Linked DNA regions of Homo sapiens: region 2 is linked to region 1. Evidence: promoter capture Hi-C in 16 types of primary human blood cells and fetal thymus (Javierre and others, 2016). All regions are on one chromosome and are shown on one strand. The core of a region is centred on a gene start or on the middle of the fragment in contact, and the rest is flanking DNA. Distances in the headings are between cores, read along the strand shown.

Region 1 (2,700 bases), core at 133-2,632:
AGATCGCGTCATTGCAGTCCAGCCTGGGCGACAAGAGCGAAACTCCGTCTCAAAACAACAACAGCAACCACCACCACCACCACCACCACCACCACAAAAAACCAATCTGTGGTCCTGCATGGAAGAATAATCTTACTCCTGCTCAAAGCCTGCCGAAGAGATTTACTCGGCTCCCATTTTGGATATGCTACTGTTGGATATCTTTGCACCGCGGTCTCCTCATCTGCATAATGGAGTTATAAAATCAACTTCACAGCACTGTGGATTAACTAAGAAAACGTATTTGAATGCCCCCCGTAAGGTGCTCAGCACGTAGTTGGCCCTCAATACACACTGGTACAATTCAAACTTTGTGAAATGAGCCAATTCGTGTACATGTTAAGGACCACGGCAGCAACTCATATCACTAAAAGTTAACTGATGCCCAACCCATGCCCCTTCCTGCTTCACTCCTCCACACCACGGGAGATTCCTTAGGGCAGAACTTTTATTTCGGCAGAGTGCAGCCAAGGGAAGACAGCATAAGCAGCTTTTTTGCCAGGGCGAAGGGGCCAGACCCCGGCCTGGGGATGGGGTGCAAGTATGGACCACACAGGGGCTGGCTTGGTCACTCACGGCTGCGTCAGGCTGTCCCGGTAACGGCTGCGCTGGCAGGGCAGTGCTCGGGGCCGGCTGGTGTAGGTGTAGGTGCTCGGGGCCCGAGAGGTGCGATCAGTCAGCGCTGAGGCCATGTCCGGGGGCTGACTGCCTCGCTTTCGGTGGAGCTTGGCTTTGAAGCAGGTGGGCGCTAAGGTGTTGTGGGACCCGGAGAGATGTAAGTAGTGCCAAGGGCAAGGATTCCGCGACGCGAGGAGAGGCGACAACAAGGGAGGCGGGCGGGACGGGAGGTTACCAGCGCAGGAGGTGGGAGCTATACTGGGCTCGCTCCCAGCACCACAGAGACCAGCTGCGGGGGCCGCATCGGTTGCCCAGCAACCCAGGGTTCTGTCTGGGGGCGGGAACTCCGGGCAGTTCCGGTCCCCAGGTTTCCCGGGAAGGACTGCGGCACAAGGGACTTCCGGCTCTTGACTCCGCCCAGCCGCGCCACCCAGGTAGGTGCGCCTGCGCTTTGCGAGGTTCCTGGCTAGGGAGGCGGCCTTGGCTGGCTTGACCGTCATCCTTGAGGCCTGCGGGGCAACGGTGGCTGTCCTTGGCCCGGCTTTGGAATGTGGCTTTGCAGGGCTGGTGTTGGCGCCATTCTCGCAGGCCCACGTGCTCCTGCTCTTCCAGGGTGTCCTCGGCTGTTTCTCCTGCCGCGGCGCAGCAGCGCTCCCAGGCTGCCCCCGCGATAACACGCCCCTGGCAGCCAGGCTCCCAGCTCTGTTACGTGCCCGGGCGGGGAAGAGCTTCCTGGTGTCTCCCGGCTCCTGCCCTTCTCCCGCCCCAGGGGCGGGCTGCCGCCGCCCTCTGCAGCTGAGTCAGTGCAGTTCCTCACCTACCTTCTCTGCTCACCGCTGTGTGCTAGCAATCGGAGGACCCTTGGCACACGGAGCGACAGGGGCCTCCCCCACAGACACCTCATTTTGGGAAAGAAGTGAGCAATTTATTGAGTCTTAAAAAATACAAAGGCATAGTTCCCCTTAATCTATCAGGCTTCCAGCTCTAAAGAATGTCTCTAGTATTGCGGGGTGGGGCTGCGCTTAAAAACGCAGACGCTTTGGTTTTAGTACCAGCAACGTTAAAAATCTTCTATCTTGTATGAGTGAATGTGTATCCCTTGTGATCAGTTATTTGCATTTGCAGTTACACCTTCATTCAGCTAATTGCTGTCTTGATTTGAATCCAGGTTCTAGAATGTACTAGCTCCGAAACCTCAGGCAAGTTAAATGTTTTTGTGCTTCATTTTCCTAATCCACAAAGTGGCAATAGAAGAATTTATCTCTTTAGGTTTTGTCTTGAGGATTAAAACCGTTAATACTTAGAGCTGTGCCTGGTAAATGGCAAGCCTTTATATTAAGATCTGGACCGTTCTGTGCTTTGAAGTGTATGACCTAAAGCAGATGTAGGCATTCTATAAGTAACACTAGCATAAAGGTGTATGGTAAATTCTAGAGGTGAAAACACTCCCAACATATTTTAGGTCTGATCATTTAATTTTGAGGTAATTTCTGAAAGGGCTAGAGGAGAAAGTGACATTTAAGTTGTGTTTGATAAATGATAGTATTTTAACTGGCCAGCCTCTTGGGGGAAGTGCATTCGGAATGGCTTGATCAAAGGCTCAAGAAGCCCAAGGTGCATTTGGAAAACTGTAAGCAAGGTTTGTGTAGATGAGTTGTAGAAATATATATAGACAGGCTGACACCACATCGTGGAAACAGTAAACACTAGCATATTAATTAGAATATTTTTTCCCTCAAGTAACAAAAAACCAATTCCAAGTGGCTGAAATAATAAGGAATTCATTATTTTACACTCCCCAGGTTGGTTAACCTGGAGGGTAACTTGGGGGCTCAGCACATTATCAACAACACGTTTTTTCCCCTACCTTTCCACTCTGTCACCTGGGTTGTTGGCTTCAACAAAGTAGTAATAGAAGTATCTGCTCTTTTGTCTTTATTGGAAGAGCAAAACCCCCTCGTAAACTCCCAACTGACCAGAATTACATCATATTGATTTAAGCTTAGGATCTATATAAGACCACCATATTTGGATTAGACCAGG
Region 2 (2,700 bases), core at 52-2,551, 360 kb before region 1:
GCACATACTTTGAAATTCAGTTTTTCAAGGAGGAGGGAACCCTCCACCAATTTTGGACCTGCGCAAATTGACTACTACCCAATATTTAGGGTCACTTGAGTACAGAATTACCTATTGCGGCGGCAAAAAAGCTGTTGAGGCCAGTGACACAAGTTCAAGTAACACTGCAATGTCACCTCATGTTTCCATGTGGATTGGAAATGTGTTTGTTTTGTTTTGTTTTTTTAAGACAGAGTCTTGCTCTGTCGCCCAGACTGGATTGCAGTGGCGTGATCTTGGCTTACTGCACCCTCCATCTCCCGGGTTCAAGCGATTCTCCTGCCTCAGCCTCCCAAGGAGCTGGGACTACAGGCATGCGCCACCAAGCCTGGCTTATTTTTGTATTTTTAGTAGAGACGGGGTTTCACCATGTTGGACAGGATGGTCTCGATCTCTTGACCTCATGATCCGCCCACCTCGGCCTCCCAATGTGCTGGGATGACAGGTGTGAGCCATCGCGCCCAGCATGGAAATGTGTACTTTCAATTGCACTTGCTAATTGAAAGCTGGTAACCAAGTCAAAGATAAGGCAGAAAACAACTGCGGCAGAACTAGACTTCCCAACAAGCCCCCTCCACTGTTCCCAGTTCTGGTGTAATCCACCCACCTTCCTGCCCCCTGCTGTGTTCCACGTGAAACTGTGTATTTAGAAAAACCATGAAAACCAAACGTACAGATCCTGCAAAGCAACCAGAAAGTCACTCCTGATGCTGAACAATGTAAATGGTCAAACAAAATCATTTTGCCTTTGGATACTGATCACAAACATAGGTTGCGGTTTTTTATCAAACACTAGTCAATAATTTACATTAAATTCTAAATTACATCTGAAACCCCAAACAGTATCATTAAATTCAGATCATCTAATAGTTTTCTTTTAGCCAATGGCTTTAGTATCTGTGCCCCATTTTACCCAGGGAAGGCAGGGAAGCTGATGAGGAAAACTCTTTCTGGCTTCATTCCTACCCTAGGTAGGAATGAGCCCCTAGCTCTCAGCACCGCTCCAGCCACACCCACCTCCTTTCACTCCCTCACACACCATGCACTGCCCCCACTTCCCAGTCTCAGGGGGCCTTGTCCCCTCTTTTTACTGCATTACCCCTACTTCTCATTCTGCAGATTTCAGCTCGAAATGGTCCCTGAACTCCCTGGGTGGGTCACATTCCCAGTTCAGTGCTCTCACAGCACCACCACTAGTGGCACTTACCACACAGCAAATGCAGGCTGACACCTTCCAGCAGGACTGTTTGATGTGTCTGCCCTGCCTGCCCCTCAGCTGTAAACTCCAGAAGGGTCTATGCCCTGCACGCTCCCTCAGTGTGTACTTTCTGAATGAGTAACAAACATCCCTTCTGTCTCTCTTCCTCTTCATGATCAACAACACAATAAAGTGTGAAATTTAGGAATGTAAGAAAAGTAAGCAAATAGGCCCCAAACTGGATCACTAGGTCCAGAATAACTGGAAATTGATTGTTCAATTTTCTTATACTCACTCTTTCTTCATTCAACCCTGGAGACATTTATTTGTATACCAGGATTCTTTTATGCTTAAAAGATTATAGAATCAAATCTTGGTGATATGCAGTAATAATGCTATGTACATAAAACTCCTTATCTGATTTAAAATATGTAATTTACATAATATAGAAGCAACTCTTATCTAGCTATTTACTGAAGTAAAAACTGTTATTTGAAACACCAAAACACACAGACTCAGTCGAAACAATTCCAAGATAGTATTTAAAACACATTATTTTCTCTAATATAAGCCATTAAACATTTAAGAAGTGAGCATTTCTCCTCTTACCTCTTTTACAATGTTGCTCACTTCATCAACAACAAAAGCAGTCTGTAAGGAAGAACATTCAGTTAAGTTTGATTTATTTAAAAGATATTTCCACTACATTGATAAATGCAAATGTAGGTAATGAACATAATGTAGAAATGAAGACCTTAGAAATAATCTAACTAGACTGTTCAGCTTTACCAAGGATGGCATTACAGTCTTCAGAAACCAGAAGACTAGAATACATGCACATAATTTAAAGGTATTGTTTTATTTTTATTTATTTATTTTTGAGACGGAGTGTCGCTCTGTAGCCCAGGCTGGAATGCAGTGGCGCAATCTCAGCTCACTGCAATCTCTGCCTCCCAGGTTCAAGTGATTCTCCTGCCTCAGCCTCCCAAGTAGCTGGGATTACAGGTGCCCTCCACCACACCCGGCTAATTTTCGTATTTTTAGTAGAGATGGGGTTTCATCATGTTGGCCAGGCTGGTCTCGAACTCCTGACCTCAGGTGATCCTCCCGCCTCAGCCTCCCAAAATGCTGGGATTACAGGCGTAAGCCACCACACCTGGCCCTGTTTTGTTTTAATCATGCCACAATCTAAGACTTCACTTTAAACTAGAATTCATTCTCTTCTTCCATTTCAACTGGCTGCTAGAATCATTAACCAATAGAGAGGCTTAATGAGTTGGTTGATTTTTGTATAAATTAACTGAAGCTGCTGAAGTAATCCATTTAAGATGTAATTCTCTCTTCCATGATGTAAACTGATTAGGAGGATCAGTTTGACCTTGAGGAGATTTTTTTAAAGCACCATTACTTGTAAAATGTACGATGATTACATTATCTCCAGGTAATTATTTTTCTTTCCCAGT

Evidence for each region. Contacts are between HindIII fragments. The CHiCAGO score rates a contact against its expected background, and 5 or more counts as called.
Region 2: a contact is called between a fragment that was not itself captured here and the fragment with the promoter of RSPH3 in region 1, in 4 of 17 cell types (non-activated CD4 T cells, fetal thymus, total B cells and 1 more). The highest score is 6.1, in non-activated CD4 T cells.

The regions. Positions count from the first base shown.
Region 1 is chr6:158,998,820-159,001,519 of GRCh38, forward strand. RSPH3 (radial spoke head 3) reads right to left here and starts at 1,383. Exons shown (of 8, transcript NM_031924.8): 1 at 616-1,383. The coding sequence starts at 731. It overlaps TAGAP-AS1 (TAGAP antisense RNA 1), which reads left to right and starts at 1,054. Exons shown (of 5, transcript NR_183546.1): 1 at 1,054-1,573. RefSeq lists enhancers at 126-1,097, 582-731, 752-801, 832-901, 1,072-1,231 and 2 more. The HindIII fragment of the contact is 7,152 bases long and covers 1-2,656 here.
Region 2 is chr6:158,639,473-158,642,172 of GRCh38, forward strand. It overlaps DYNLT1 (dynein light chain Tctex-type 1), which reads right to left. Exons shown (of 5, transcript NM_006519.4): 2 at 1,847-1,888. Among named protein-coding and RNA genes, the nearest start is that of DYNLT1, 3.9 kb to the right of the region's middle. The HindIII fragment of the contact is 3,851 bases long and covers 1-2,700 here.